Regions from separate parts of the Homo sapiens genome. Here region 2 is linked to region 1. The links are contacts of gene promoters, found by promoter capture Hi-C in blood cells and fetal thymus (Javierre and others, 2016). All regions are on one chromosome and are shown on one strand. Each heading gives the region's core, a stretch centred on a gene start or on the middle of the fragment in contact. The rest is flanking DNA. Distances are from core to core; before and after follow the strand shown. Region 1 holds the start of SAMD8 (sterile alpha motif domain containing 8). Region 2 overlaps VCL (vinculin).

What was found. The method cuts DNA at HindIII sites, captures the fragments that hold promoters and counts their contacts. A CHiCAGO score of 5 or more calls a contact.
Region 2: a contact is called between a fragment that was not itself captured here and the fragment with the promoter of SAMD8 in region 1, in 1 of 17 cell types (total CD8 T cells). The highest score is 5.2, in total CD8 T cells.

What each region holds. Positions count from the first base shown.
Region 1 is chr10:75,108,658-75,116,197 of GRCh38, forward strand. SAMD8 (sterile alpha motif domain containing 8) reads left to right here and starts at 2,999. Exons shown (of 6, transcript NM_001174156.2): 1 at 2,999-3,065. DUSP13A (dual specificity phosphatase 13A) reads right to left here and starts at 500. Exons shown (of 3, transcript NM_001007271.3): 1 at 352-500. The coding sequence starts at 500. It also overlaps a transcript of DUSP13B not described here. RefSeq lists enhancers at 1,809-2,758, 2,759-3,707 and a silencer at 2,746-3,085. The HindIII fragment of the contact is 16,308 bases long and covers 1-5,799 here.
Region 2 is chr10:74,105,388-74,112,927 of GRCh38, forward strand. VCL (vinculin) reads left to right here. Exons shown (of 22, transcript NM_014000.3): 17 at 1,843-1,967; 18 at 3,584-3,769; 19 at 6,522-6,725. Among named protein-coding and RNA genes, the nearest start is that of AP3M1, 42 kb to the right of the region's middle. The HindIII fragment of the contact is 184 bases long and covers 3,781-3,964 here.

The DNA.
Region 1 (7,540 bases), core at 1,749-4,248:
GAGGGAGGCTGGGCCCAGAAACAGGGGGCTCTCTGTCTACCTTATCTCATGCCCCAAATACTATTTCCTGGGCCTCTGCCTCTACACTTGACAGTTGTCCTGGAAATGTTTCCTGGAACTCCTGGGAGACTCCCTGCTTTCAGGCAGGCGAAGTCCCTGCTCTCCCTGGTGGCCATACCTGGTCACTGCACTGACCTCAGCACCCCCGGGGGTCCTGGAGAAGGTCCCTGGCCTGGGATGGTCAGAGCAGAGCTATTTCTCCTTGTTTCCACCCTCCTGTGTCTGGTAAAGCGACCAAGAACTGCCTCTCCACGTCCCCACCCCCATGCCCCTTGGCCAGCTACCACTCACGCATCTCCTATGAAAAGGTTGGGCCAAACTTCGTCCACACGGCTGCAAGAAGACTTCCCTGCCCGCAGGAGCTCCTCCAGCTCCAGGATGCTGGGGCAAGGCGTGGCTTTGTCCTCTCCCCCCAGCTCTGGGAGAGAGGTCTCAGCCATGGGCCAGCCCGCCCACCCCTCTGCCTCTGTGGTCACTCCTCTCTGCCTCTCCAGTGTCATTTCTCCTTCCCAGAGATTGACAGGGACAGGTGACAGAAGCAAGTGACTCAGCAAGTCACAGGGGCCTCTGGAGTGGACAAGACCTTTTCCTCCCCAAGCCTCCCCCCACCCCCAAACTCCATGAGAACACAGAATCAGAGAGACCTCTGCAAGTCAGCTACCACCCTGAACCTCAGTTTCTTCATCTGTAAAGTAAGGATAATCACACCTACCTCAGAGAATTTGAGGATTAGATGAAACAAAGGACATGCTGGGTCTGACACATAGTAGGTGCTTAGAAACATCTGTGGAATTAGTAGATGTAGAGCCCTGCCTAAGGCTATTAGGTTCTGAGGACTGAGTTAAAGTAGAGATCCAGGGTGCAGAGGAGGTGGCTGGTTCCAAGGATGAATGATAGAAAGAACTGAAAGAAGTGTACAGTCTAGGTGGGCCACAAATTGGGCAGGAGCTGGATTGGATGTCTGTTGGATGAGTCTCTGAATTACGGAGGTCAGGGACAGTTTTCTGAGTTGTAGAGTCAGAGAAATATGGGTAAGAGACATGGAGAGCTTCCTTTAAAGGGTGCCCACAAGATTCATGGGGGGAGGGGGAAGGTGTTTTTTTTTGTTTTGTTTTGTTTAGACAGGGTCTCACTCTGTCACCCAGGCTGGAGTGCAGTGGCATCATCTTGGCTCACTGCCACTACCACCTCCCAGGTTCAAGTGATTCTCCTGCTTTAGCTTCCTGAGTAGCTAGGATTACAGGCATGTGCCACCATGCCACACTAATTTTTGTGTTTTTAGTAGAGATGGGGTTTTGCCATGTTGGTCTGACTGGTCTTGAACTCCTACCTCAAGTGATCAGCCTGCCTCGGCCTCCCAAAGTACTGGGATTACAGGTGTGAGCCGCCGTGCCGGGCCAATGGGGCAAGGTTTGAACAATGGTCCTGTAGTGAAGATGGCTAACTTCTCAGAAGAGAAGGCTGAAGAGGGCCTTGTATGTCAAATGGGGAGACGGGAGGTGAGTGTTGCCCTAGACTTTGAGAGCCAAAGGGGCTAACTGTCATCAGAAACAGTGGGAGGGAGATTCCTCTGCCTATAAGGGCTTTGGGTCCCAAAATAGAAACTGAGAAAGGTCAACCTGTCCTTCTGCCAGAGCTGGTTATCAGCAAGAGAGATGAGATGTCTCACCCTCTCTCATGTGACTTCTCAGTGGCCCTAATGGAGCTGGGAAGGGTATGAGCTGCAGTGGGGAGGTTCCCAGCTGCCCTTGGCCTTAAGACCAGTTTGAAGGGAAAGGCCACACCAGGGCATCCCATGGAAGCAGTCTACACTCATGTCTATCCCATTCAGAACCATTGAAGTCGGCCCGGCACTGTGTGGGGAGGCAAGACCAAGGAGGGGCTCGTGTCCAGGTTACAGCTGGGTTTGGACTTGGTTTATGCCAATGCTAGACCTGGCTTGGGAGGAGACCTTCCCTCAGGGTGGTGCAGCATGGTGGAGTGAGGAAAATACAGGATCTGATGTTAGAGAGATTTGGGTTGGAATATCAGTTTGCAATATGTCAGGCAGTATGTTTCTTTACTTTTCTGTGCTATAGGATCCCCCTTGCAGAATTAGCACTAGGATTTTTTTTTTGAGATGGAGTTTGCTCTTGTCGCCCAGGCTGGAGTGCCATGGCGTGATCTCGGCTCATTGCAACCTCCATTTCCCGGGTTCAAGCGATTCTCCTGCCTCAGCCTCCCGAGTAGCTGGGATTACAGGTATGCACCACCACGCCCGGCTAATTTTTGTATTTTTAGTACAGACGAGGTTTCCCCATGCTGGCCAGGCTGGTCTCGAACTCCTGACCTCAGGTGATCCCGCCTCAGCCTCCCAAAGTGCTGGGATTACAGACGTGAGCCTCCGCTCCCGGCCTTAGCACAAGGATTAAATGAGATGTTTATATGGCGTTTGGCATAGACACTGTCAAAGAGTAAATGGGCAATAAATTATAACAATGATCATTGGGGGCTGGCTATTGGAGAAGAGCTGGCTCTCTCCAGAGGAATTCGGATTACCTCCTTCTAGGCCCTAACCCCATTTACTGATCCCACAGGCCCCGCCCCGGCTCCGCTAGCCCCGCTTCCTCCTGTCGCTTTGGCCTCCGGCATGACGCATGCGCCCTCGGGCTCCTCCGCGGCAGCATCTCGGTTCTCCTCTCGGGCCCATCTGGAGCCTCGCGTCTTTTCCAGTGTGGGCCCCGCCCCCTGCCGGTAGAACCCCGTCCCCGGCCGGTAGGGCCCCGCCTCCCGAAGCAGTTCCGGTTCGGCTCCGAGCAGCTGCCGGCGCGGCGGTGACGGCGGCCGGGACGATGCCTGCGCGCAGTCGCCACCGCCCCCGCCTCCACTCCGGCTCCCCGCCCCGGGCTCCGCCCCCGCCGCTTGAGGCGCTTCACTCCGGCGAGGCGGGGAGGGCCCCGGACTCCGACGGCGGCTCGGACGCCGACTCGGAGGTGGGTCCGGGGAGCCCGACTCGGACCGCGGAGGTGAGCGGGAGCTGAGGCTGAGGAGAGGGGAGCTTGGGGGGCGCCTGCTGCCAAGGGTGAGTGGGGAGTCTGGGATGGAGCCGGGGGCTGCCGAGGGACCGCGACCTGGAGGGGCCCCGGGGAGACGGTTGAGGGAACCGGGATAGTCAGCTCTGGAATGGAATCTGAAGCAAATGGAGGTTGTCGAACTGAGGGCCTGAAGGCTGAGGGATAAGTGGAGGCCGAGGAACGAGAGGGAGAGAGCGAGAGGGGGAGGCTTGAAGAGCCCAGAGCTTGGGGGCTTTTGAAAGCTGCGCAGTGGGGGAAAAAGATCGAAGGTCCTGCGGGAATGTGGACCCGGAAGAAGAGATGCTCTGGGTTTGGCAGCGGGGATGAGGAGTCAGAGGAGCAAGACCTGGGCCGGTGTTCCCTTCCCAGGGCGAGGGAGGGCGATCGGGGCTGGGACTGGAGCCCTCTCATGGGGTTCTCCTCTTACGGAGCCCTCTTATCCGCCTCCCACCCCGGGTGGGGCTGGTGGTGATGGAGGGCAGGATTTAGGTTTGACTAGAAGGAGGAGGGCTGTTGGATGGGAAATCGTCTGGCCTCAAGGGGTGAGGGAGGCACTGAAAAAGAGAAGTGTGGTCAAGAAAGAAAAGGAGCCCTTGGGGATCTAATTTTGGGCTTTGGCATTTTTACAGGTGCCTTTTAAAACATCAAAGATCACTAGGGCAATGTACTTGGATCGTGGGGCTTTCTCGTTCGTGCACAGTGGATCATTTTAAGAATCTTGGGTGGAAGGGGCGGTGTGAATCACTGATTTGCCTAAAGGACTGGGGGAAGTAGTGGAGAGGAAGTGATGTTTGAAGAAGGTAGTGGAAGACGTGATTCTGAAAATGAAGATATCATTTGGATTTATTGACAGTAATGGTGTCCTTTTTTTCATTGTAATTTTTTCGTAGCTAAGTTTAAATACCAGACATGTTAAGATCCTAAAAATTTACTATATTACCTTTAAGTTTTAAAAACTTGAAACAAGACTTTGGATACTCAGATTTTAAAAATTAAACTTGAAACAAGAATTTGGACACTTGGATTTTACAGATACTCAACATGGACTGGTTCCACTTTCAAAGTTTTAAGTTGACACATGTATTTGCCACATAGTAAATGTATGGTCAATGCAAGTTTCTGGGTGAAGGGGGCACAGTGAACTTGCCACAGTCTAGGCGCAATACCAAATCTTCCTCTCACTGATAACCCCAGGATTGGACTTATCTCTTGAAAATTGGAGAGGTACCTTTGACTGATTGGCAAAACCAATATTGAAATACTATTTTGCAGGTATTGTGTGAATAGTATTTTTAGTAGAGTGATTTGGAAAAATAAGGACAGAGGATGCTTGTAGTTGGCAGCCAACACAACTGGGACAGGTGGGTATACAGATGCTTTTTATAGAAGACATAGTTCCAAAACATAATTATGCCAGAAAAAGAATGATTGCAATATTTATATTCACTTTAGTAGAGATAAATTGACTTCCTTTTGTGATTGTTAAGTCATAACATGGTTCCATGAAGTCTTTGACTTTAGCCACATGTCTCATATGTTTTACAACTTTTTATGTGATTATAGGTTTGTAAAGTTGTTGGCCATTTCTTTTCTCTTCCTTCTTTTCTTTTCTTTCCTTTCTTTTTTTTTTTTGAGACAGAGATTCGCTGTGTTGCCCAGGCTTAAGTGATCCTCCCACCTCAGCCTCCCAAGTAGCTGGGAGTAGCTGGGACTGCAGGTGGGCGCCACCATGGCTGGCTAATTTTTGTTAGCATCAAGCGTTTTCTAAATGCTTGATTAAATCTAAATGGATATCTACTGTTTAATCTTCATGAGATGATAATTTGATTTGCAACAGCTTTTAAATTAGTTTATGTGTATGGGCTATGTGACATACCCTCAGATGCACAGTGGAATAGTAATTGTTTCTTCAAAGGATATGTGAATTCTTAGCTAAAAATGCTGAGATTGTTAAAGTATTAATTCCCTTTTCTTTAACTTAATACAAATTATCTTCAGTTGAAGTTTATGTAATATTACTGTTTGTTGGTTTTATCTTTAGAGTGAGATCCTCTGGAGACCTTATCTTCATACTTAGTTGTGAATAAAAGTCATGGCATGTAAAAATTTGCTGAACTGCAATATAAGAACTCTATTAAGATTACAGCTTAATGTTATTGCAAAATTAAAGAGAAACTGTTAGATGGAGTTGTACAATTAACATATTAGCATGTCTAATAGTTTTTTAATTTTTGTTTCCCTTTGTCAGTTCTCACACCCATTGAATAAAGAAAATCAGTTTTTGGCTAGGTGTGGTGGCTTACTCCTGTAATCCCACCACTTTAGGAGGCCGAAGCAGGCAGATCACTTGAGGTCAGGAGTTCAAGACCAGCTTGGCCAACATGGCAAAACCCCATCTCTACTAATACTATAAAAAGAATTAATCAGGTGTGGTGGCTCACACCTGTAATCCCAGCTACTCAGGAGGCTGAGGCAGGAGAATCTCTTGAACCCGGGAAGCAGAGGTTGTGAGCTGAGATCACACCACTGCACTCCAGCCTGGGCAACAGAGTGATATGTCTCAAAAAAAAAAAAAAAATCGGTTTCTCTAAGGCAGAAGAAGCCATCATGACTGCGATGGCAGAATATGCAGACATATTTAGGTAAATCAGTTTTGATTTCAGTACCATAACCCCCCTTCTGCAAAAGCTTATTCACATTGCACAGTTGCTTATAAACATTTTTTTATTTTGTTAATCATTAGATCCTCAATACTTCTTCAAAACTTTGCTGTTACTGATTAAGACATTTTCATGGCTTTTCTAAGAATTGAAATTTGAACACTTTTTTTGAGAAACTTAAATCACAGATGTTTCCATGAATAGTATTATTATTGTTTTATAAGAATGCCATGTTAACAAGCTATTCTTTCAAGATTTTTACTTCCAGGCCTGATGTAATATATGGTGTTAATTGTTGGGTGTACCTAGCATGCCCGTTAATTTATGGATGGAAATCTTTCCTGTCTTCAGATTCTACCCCCTTCATTTTTCATATGCCAGTGGATTGTTAATGAACTAAGATTGAATTCACTTTTTAATTTTAAAGCTTCTGTAGCTTTGATTCTCTTTGGACATCAAACTGATTTATACGAGATATGAATACAATTGCATATTCTGCTAAATTACCTATGAAGCTCTTTTGAATGATTGTGGTATTTGGTGAAAAAATACAGTATGAGCTAATCAAAATTCTTTTAAGGGATTTAGGTTATAGAGGAGGACTATACTATTTCATTCCCAGATTAGATTAAATGTTTTACTTATTTGCAGAGATGACAGGGGAGAGCCTTGATTATTTTCACGTCTCATGTATTTATATTTGTTTACAAATAAAGAGTTACTTATTTGCAAAATGCCGTATCTTTAATACTTGCTTACATGTGATTTTGGGAATTCTTTTGGAACCAGTTTTTGTTCTTGTTTTTGTTTTGCTCTAAGGGTATGATGTAACACATTGAGGGGTTAATAGTAGGGCAAGAACAGAGAAAGCCATTTGACAACAGATATCATCAGGACAGTGATGCTTACTTTAGGTCTTGTGGTTTTCTTGGCCTTGAGAAATCAAGATGTTAACTAAAAATAGGAGAGCATGGGCCAGGCACACTGGGAAAACAGATTGGTGTTTACATGCTACCGCTGTTGCTTCCTGGTAATTTGCCATATGAATGTGTGGGTATGGATTTGTAACAGACCTGTGATGTGAATATTCCTGAACCCCCTCCTCCCATACACACAGTACCATCATCACAGATCTGAAGCCTAACCTTTAGCTGAGTTCAGTGACTTCATGTTTCCGTATTGAAATGTTCTGTTATTGGGTCCTCACAATACTATAGAATGTAACATACTGCGGGCACGGTGGCTCACGCCTGTAATCTCAGCACTTTGGGAGGCCGAGGCGGGCGGATCACGAGGCCAGGAGATCGAGACCATCCTGGCGAACACGGTGAAACCCCGTCTCTACTAAAAATACAAAAAAATTAGCCGGGCCTCGTGGCAGGCGCCTGTAGTCCCAGCTACTCAGGAGGCTGAGGCAGGAGAATGGCATGAACCCGAGAGGCGGAGCTTGCAGTGAGCGGAGATCACACCACTGCACTCCAGCCTGGGCAACAGAGCGAGACTCCGTCTCAAAAAAAAAAAAAAAAAAAGACTATTAACTAAGAAAAACTTGGTTATAATAGTTTCACCACAGTGTTTCACCATAAAACAATGTTTTATGATATGTACCTCAGAAAAGAGTGTTGTGGGGCAGGGCAGTGAATTATATTTATATTTGTCTAAGTATTTTTTGGTAGTTTTTTTTTTTTAAAGATAGGGTCTCACTGTCTCCCAGGCTGGAATACAGTGGCGCGATCATGGCTTATGCAGCCTTGAACTCCTGGGCTC
Region 2 (7,540 bases), core at 2,623-5,122, 1.0 Mb before region 1:
TGAGAGGTTAACTCAGGAAAGGTCGTGAGGGAATATGTACCCCACAACCACCACATACAAAGTCTGGGGGCAAAAACTATAGACACTTAGTTTGAGAATGCTAGATTAATCTTTTTCCATCCAAGTCTCTGCAGTTATCAGCAGGCTTGTTGTATGTTAGTTTTTCTGGACCAACTTCTCTGTGCTTTCTTTTTTTTTTGAGACTCTCACCCAGGCCAGAGGGCAGTGGCATGATCTCAGCTCACTGAAACCTCCACCTTCTGGGTTCTAGCGATTCTCCTACCTCAGCCTCCCGAGTAGCTGGGATTACAGGTGTGTGCCACCATGCCTGGCTAATTTTTATGTTTTTAGTAGACAGGGTTTTGCCATGTTGGCCAGGCTGGTCTTGAATTCCTGACCTCAGGTGATCCACCCGCCTTGGCCTGTCAAAGTGCTGGGATTACAGGTGTGAGCCACCGTGCCCAACCTCTGCGCTTTTTTAGTGCTGGGATTACAGGTGTGAGCCACCGTGCCCAACCTCTGCGCTTTTTTTTTTTTTTTTTTTTTTGAGACGGAGTTTTGCTCTTGTTGCCCAGGCTGGAGTACAATGGCACAATCTTGGCTCACTGCAACCTCCGCCCCCGCCTGGATTCAAGTGATTCTCCTGCCCCAGCCTCCTGAGTAGCTGGGATTACAGGCTCCCACCACCACACCCAGCTAATTTTTTGTAGTTTTAGTAGAGGCAGAGTTTCACCATGTTGGCCAGGCTGGTCTCAAACTCCAGACCTCAGTTGATCCACCCGCCTTGGCCTCCCAAAGTGCTGGGATTACAGGCATCCAGCCTGTGCTTTCTTAATATGGTCTGGCTAAATAGCTCCTCGCCTTGTTCAGTCATTATTTTGGAAAATTTTCAAAAGATGCATGATAACCAATTTACCATCCATTTAGTTTATGTAACTGGTGTTAACTTCTCTTGGGCTTTTCTTAAAATGCTTTTTTTTCTTTGTAAAGCATTCTCAGTTTCTATCAAATCTGGAGGGCTTAAGTTGATCTGTGGGTCTCCTAGGCCCTACACCTAAAGAAAATCTGGGTTTTCTTTAGGTGAATTTTGATCATATTTTTGGTACTACCATGGCAGATCATAATTGGAGCCGCTCCTTTGGTTGAAATCATCTGAATTCCTTCCTGTTTTGAACATCTGATGTTTTCAGTCTTGTCTATGAGTAGAATGCAGTCAATGCAAGAGAGTAGGAAGGAGGGGCTCCCCTATTCATCTCTGGTTCAGGCAGAATCTTTCTAATATCCAAAACCCATTATCACTAAGGACATGCTTGGTTTCCTAATTGGAGTTTCTAATAGTAGAGTAGATTCCTGAATTCCAGGCAACTGAACAGAGTAGCGCAGCTCAGCATAAGGGTTAACATACTGAATGCCAAGGACAGCAAAGGAGTAGAGAGAAAGGTGAGAAGTACTTCAGGGAATGTATGTCCAATCTGAAACTGACATCTCCCATGTTCTGAGTTGGGCAGGCTTATCTCTTGACTGCCTCATCATAAGAGAGGTGATGGATGCCACCTGAGCCCAAAGTGTTCATGCCCAGGGATCTCCTGGGTACTTTTTAGTTGTACAGCCAAGAAGGCACCCTGAACACTAAAAGAACAGCTGGTTTGTGATGCTTCCAATGCTCTGCAGGCCTCAGGGCATCTGCCTTGTCCTGCCTCCCCCCTTCTTCAATCACTGCCCGTGATATTTACTGGCAGCTTCACATCCAGCTTTTGTTCATGGAACCAGTTCTGCTGCTGCACAGACAGTGCTTTGGGGCACTGACCCACCCAGCTGAAAGTGAGGATGTCTTGTGTTTAGGACTGCAAAAGAGCTTCCTGGACTCAGGATATCGGATCCTGGGAGCTGTGGCCAAGGTCAGAGAAGCCTTCCAACCTCAGGAGCCTGACTTCCCGCCGCCTCCACCAGACCTTGAACAACTCCGAGTAAGTAAATTCAGATATGCAGAGAATTGAGCAGGAAGGTGTTGAGACTTCAGCAAGAGAGAGGTAGATTGTGTTTTAGAGCCTCCATCACTAGGTGGCTTCGTTTAGCTTTCATTTGAAGCTTAGTGGGAGGCAGATCTCGATTTTCATTCCTAAATCCAGTGGAGTTATAACCTAGTGCTTATATGCATGGGTTGTGTGTGTGTGTGTAGTACTGGTGTGTGTGGTAGTGGCTTGCTGTGATGGGGAGCGGCTGGAGCAGAGGAGCTGGCTTTGGTAAGTGTGGATGTGATGAGTGATGAGGTAGTGCATTGTGGTAAAATAATCTGCACAGCTTGGAGTAAGGAGATTTGGTGTGTTCTTAGTTGATAATGGTAGAACCGAGGTGGTTGAAATCTTGTGTTGGTTCTTTCCTTTATTTGACTTTTTTTTAAGTAACAAGATACATGCTTTTAAAAAATTTTTCCCTAACTATAATTTAAGATCTTTAGATACCTTCCCCACTACCCCCCGCAAGTACTGTGAATATATTTTTACATGGTGTAGGAAGAAGCTAGCTAGGCAGTATGTTGCAGACACAAATTCCAGAAACAGAAATAGTGATTATTTCTAGACACTTATTCCAACTAACAGTATTAGAAATACCTTGACTTTGTAAATAACTTATCAAGGCAATAATCTGATTTACTTTCCCATATTTAATGTCAGTAAAAGATGTTAAGTTTTTAAGTTGGTTGAGTACAAAATTGTGTCATCGCACACACAGCTAAGGAACAGTGTTTCCCAGCCTTCAACGCATCTTAGATTCTTCCCAGCTGGGTGCTTGGTGGGTGTTTAGAGCTGGGAGAGAGGGCTATTCCTGGGAATGGCTTCTTATGTGAGCAACAGAGTTATGTCATTTAGAATCTGGATCTTAGAGGTCATTTGGTCTAGCTACCCCTCAGTGACAGATGAGGAACCTCAGGCCAAGGGGAGAAGTTACTTGCCTATGTAGCTGCTTTCTGGTAGAACCAGGACCACAACTTACATCTTCTGTAGGGACTTTTTGAGAATCCTTCATCTGGTAGCACTGTGTATACTTCCCTGGGATGCAACCAAAACAGTAGCTGCAAGCCTTTTTTTTTTTTCTTTTTTTCTTGTTTTGAGATGGAGTCTTGCTCTGTCGCCCAGGCTGGAGCGCAGTGGCATGATCTCAGCTCACGGCAACCTCTGCCTCCCGGGTTCAAGCAATTCTCCTGCCTCAGCTTCTTGAGTAGTTGGGATTATAGGCACATGCCACCATGCCCGGCTAATTTTTGTGTTTTTAGTAGAGATGGGGTTTCACCATTTTGGGCAGGCTGGTCTCGAACTCCTGACCTCAGGTGACCCACCTGCCTTGGCCTCCCAAAGTGCTGGGATTATAGGCGTGAGCCACTGCGCCCGGCCACTGCTAGCTTTTTGTAGAGAAACCTGCTTCTGTTGAGATTGAAGCAGGTGGTCCTTGTGGCTCAGTGTGGGTGGTCTTATGTGGAGTCAATATGGGTGGGTTTTCTAGGGATGCTTTTTAGAAGAAAGGAAAGAATTCCAGGGGGGAGTAGTTTTAGGACTTTACTTACAACTTGTTTTCTCTTTTTTAGCTAACAGATGAGCTTGCTCCTCCCAAACCACCTCTGCCTGAAGGTGAGGTCCCTCCACCTAGGCCTCCACCACCAGAGGAAAAGGATGAAGAGTTCCCTGAGCAGAAGGCCGGGGAGGTGATTAACCAGCCAATGATGATGGCTGCCAGACAGCTCCATGATGAAGCTCGCAAATGGTCCAGCAAGGTAAGTAGTGAAGCTTTTCTTGTTGAGAAAGGATGTCTTCTCGGAAAGGATGAAGGACCATGAAAGACCCAGAAAGAAGAGTCTATTTGGAGTCACCCTCTCTCTCTCCTTTGGTTCCTGTGTTGCCAATAGCATATTCCTCTTCTTACCTGTGCTTTAGTGAGATGTTTCTGACACCTGATGGTTTCTCCTTCAAGCTTGCAAAAGCCAGAGTCAGGGTGCCTGTGATTTGAGAAGAGGATTCCTGTCCTTTGTCCATTAGAGTGCCAGGTGCCTTGACCTTAGCATTTGGGGTCTTTTAGAAATTGCTTATCTTTCTTGGAACTGCAAATGTTTTTAGATGCTACATTGCTAATGATCAGAGCTCCAAATATGAATTGTGTGGGCTGTGCTAAAGCTAGATGAAATGTTTGCATTTTCTTTTTTTTTCCACAGAAGCAAGTAGATTGGTATCTTAGAAGCCATGTGCTTTTGTCCTTTCTCAGAATCATTTCACCTGTCAACTCAAGACAGCTCCAGGCTGTCTCTTACTCAGCAAATCTGAAGGTGTAAATATTAATGTGGTTGGTAAAAATATGGATGCTACAGCAGTCTTGCCCTATGAATAACTTTTGCCTATTTTCCCCTAAATGATGAAAAGTGAGCAGTAGCTTTTCTAGATAAGAGGAATATTATTGCTAACCCTGCAGTGAAAGGTAGCTCTTAGTTCTAAACTGTTTCTAATATGACCCTAGATCTTTTTTTTAATGTTTTTATGACCCTAGATCTTTATTCCCACCACCTATTTGCCTTTATTCTTTACACATCCTCAAAGCTTTCAAGCTCTTGTGTCGATTGTATTTCCTCAGGGACCTCCTGCACCTGCAGCTGATCTTGGATTTTTTTCAGGCTGGGAAATTCACATTGGTTTTTAACTCTGTATTTTGCTGAACTGTTAGCTGTGAGCCCAGGTTCTAAGAAGGAAGGGAGACTTTGCTGGTGTTGGACCTGACCTGTAGAATTATTTATAATGGTATCTCTCCAACTGCATGTGGCAGAGCCCCACTGTGCATGGGGAGTGGGGGAGGGTGACAGTGAAGATTTTAAAGGAAATTTAAATTTCATTACAATGAACCAAAATACACTATGCAGAACAAAAAATATACATGAATTATTTAAAAAAACAAACAAACTTAAAAGCAGACAGCATTGGCCCACATTACTTGCCCCACTCTGCCATTTGTGGCCAGAAGTCCTGAGGTCTATCTCCTGAAGTGTGCAAGATCAGGAGTTTGCTGACTTTGAGTTGTGTGAAGTCAGAAGCTACTTGAACCATGTGTGTACTGGGCTGGGGAGGAATATCTGTTCGTGTGTCTGTCAACCTATCTGTCTTTGTACACTGTGGGACTCTGAGCCTTAGCAGCAGTGAGCTGGCTTTTCTTCTGAGCAGCAGAGATGGGTCTTGGTTGAGTTTAGGCAAAAGAGTTTAGATGGTATCTGAACCCCTTGTTGGCCCTGAATCCTCCAACATCGTCACCCTTTGGAGTCAGGTTTCATGTGCAGGTTAAGACTTTTAGGAGTGGTAACAACCTCAAAGAAAATTCCATATAAACTACTTCCTCTTGAGTACAGATGTTTGATGTAAAGAACCTGTATTCATCATTCTTTGTATAAATGGTTTGGCTTCATTGTGGCAGTTTTTAATTTTCTTTCCATGTTAGTCTATTTTCAGCATCTGGCTTTTATAATCTCCATCCCTGGTTCTAAATTCATGTTCTCTCCATCATGATTCTCATTCTTAAATGAGCACCATTCTTCTGAGCTTCTGTGAGCTCAGCTGCAGTCACTTGCCAAGTTCACATATTATTCTATCTGTGAACTAGATAAGCAGAGTTTGGGGTGAGTGAGAACCTATTTTGCAAGCAATTTAGGTTGTACCCAAGGAGAAGCTTTCTGAGGTGGTACTAGCAATGGATGCAAAAAGAGATGGTAGAAGCTTTGCCTCAGAAGACCTTGAGGGGATAGAGAGCTGGTCTGATGTGTGGGTGTTCCCTGAGATGGGCGGCTGACGAGGTGGCTTCTTGAGGCTCCTTACAGCTGGGTGACAGTGGGGTACTTAAGTTCTCTTCAGTCACCATTGTGTTTGTTTTTCCTGCCTCTTTCCTAGTTTGGTATTCGTTACCTCTGATGTATCATTTTTAATTCTGGGACTTTTAACTCATGAAGGAAATAATCTATGTCTGGCAGCTGCAGAGCTGACCCAAATTGCCTCCTGTGTCCCAGGAAAATGTAGAACAGTGACCATATGATCCAGCAGTGTTCACTTTGTTCTGTACAAAGTAACTTGTGTGGCTGCATTTACTTTTTCTCTCCGGATTCCTTTTAAAGGTAATTTGCTACTATCGTTTGGTTGTTTGGCTCCTCAGAAATATTCTCATGTGAGAATCACTCTTGTCAAGTTTGACTTTAGTATCAAGTATATTAAAGAAATGGATGCCACTTGCTTTCTTGGTGTAAAGATTTCTCTAGAAGCCCTTTGCCATTGGAGTGAGTCCCTTTTCTTCTCTCACCACACAGTGGCTTGGGCTGAGTGGCGCTGGAGGCTGAGAATTCCCCCTTCTGTGAAGCTTGGTACACAAGGCTCCTAGAGAACATGTTTCTTTCTCATCCTAGGCAGGCTTTGGTTACTAAACCAGCTGAAGCCCAGTTTCCCAAGTCGTATTGCTCTTACTAACACTATCCCTATTTCTCATCCTTCCCGCCATCGACAAAGCCGGGCATCCCAGCCGCTGAGGTGGGTATAGGTGTTGTAGCTGAGGCAGATGCGGCCGATGCTGCTGGCTTCCCTGTCCCCCCTGACATGGAAGACGATTACGAACCTGAGCTGCTGTTAATGCCATCCAATCAGCCGGTCAACCAGCCCATTCTGGCCGCGGCTCAGTCCTTGCATCGGGAAGCTACCAAGTGGTCTAGTAAGGTACTGATAAGCACCCCCAGTTGGGGGCTGCTCCATATGCATCCGGCCATGTGCAGCCTTGACACATTGCATCACTCATGATCTGTGCTGGTCCTGTGAGTCTGAGCAGGGCGGGCATCTGTCTGTCTGCACCATGTTGTTAGGACTGGCTTCACAAGTTTGATAGGTCTGCTAACGCCAGATTAATTGGACTGCATTTATGTTTAGGGGATGAAGAGAGATGGGGGGGGTCACTTTTGGAAAGGATTCCTTTTCTTACTGATTTTGTGGCCATCGCTGGAAACCCCTTGGGAAGCCGTGAATGCATCTCTCAATGACTTCCAGGTCAGGAACCATGGTAGACCATTACGAGGTCACCTGGCCTGACCATTGAGCTTTGCCTGCTCCCAACTGACCCCTCACTGATGGCTCAGGGAGAGTTGATGAGGGGGAGAGGCAGCTTTATAGGGCAGGGTCTCTGGGGGAGGACTGCTTGCTGCCCTGCACTTGGCTATGTGGCAGATGCTGGCCTTGATGGGAGTCCACAGAAAATGGGGCCTCACTGACTGCTTGTCCAGGTATCTCAGTGGGAGGGAATGGGAGTGGGAAATGGAGTACTCAAGGCCACAAGACAGGCCGCCATAGAACTTTGGCCTTGGGGAATGAACCAAAGCTAGTTTGGAGAGTAGGGTGATTGGGGTGATCACTTTTCCCTTTAAAGGTGGCATGCTGCAAGAAGAAAGGCTTTGAAGAGTGATGGGTAGTCACTAACCATGGCACTATGCTATCTTCTAACCAACGTGATGGGGTCCTGGAATGATCCTAGGTCTGCACTA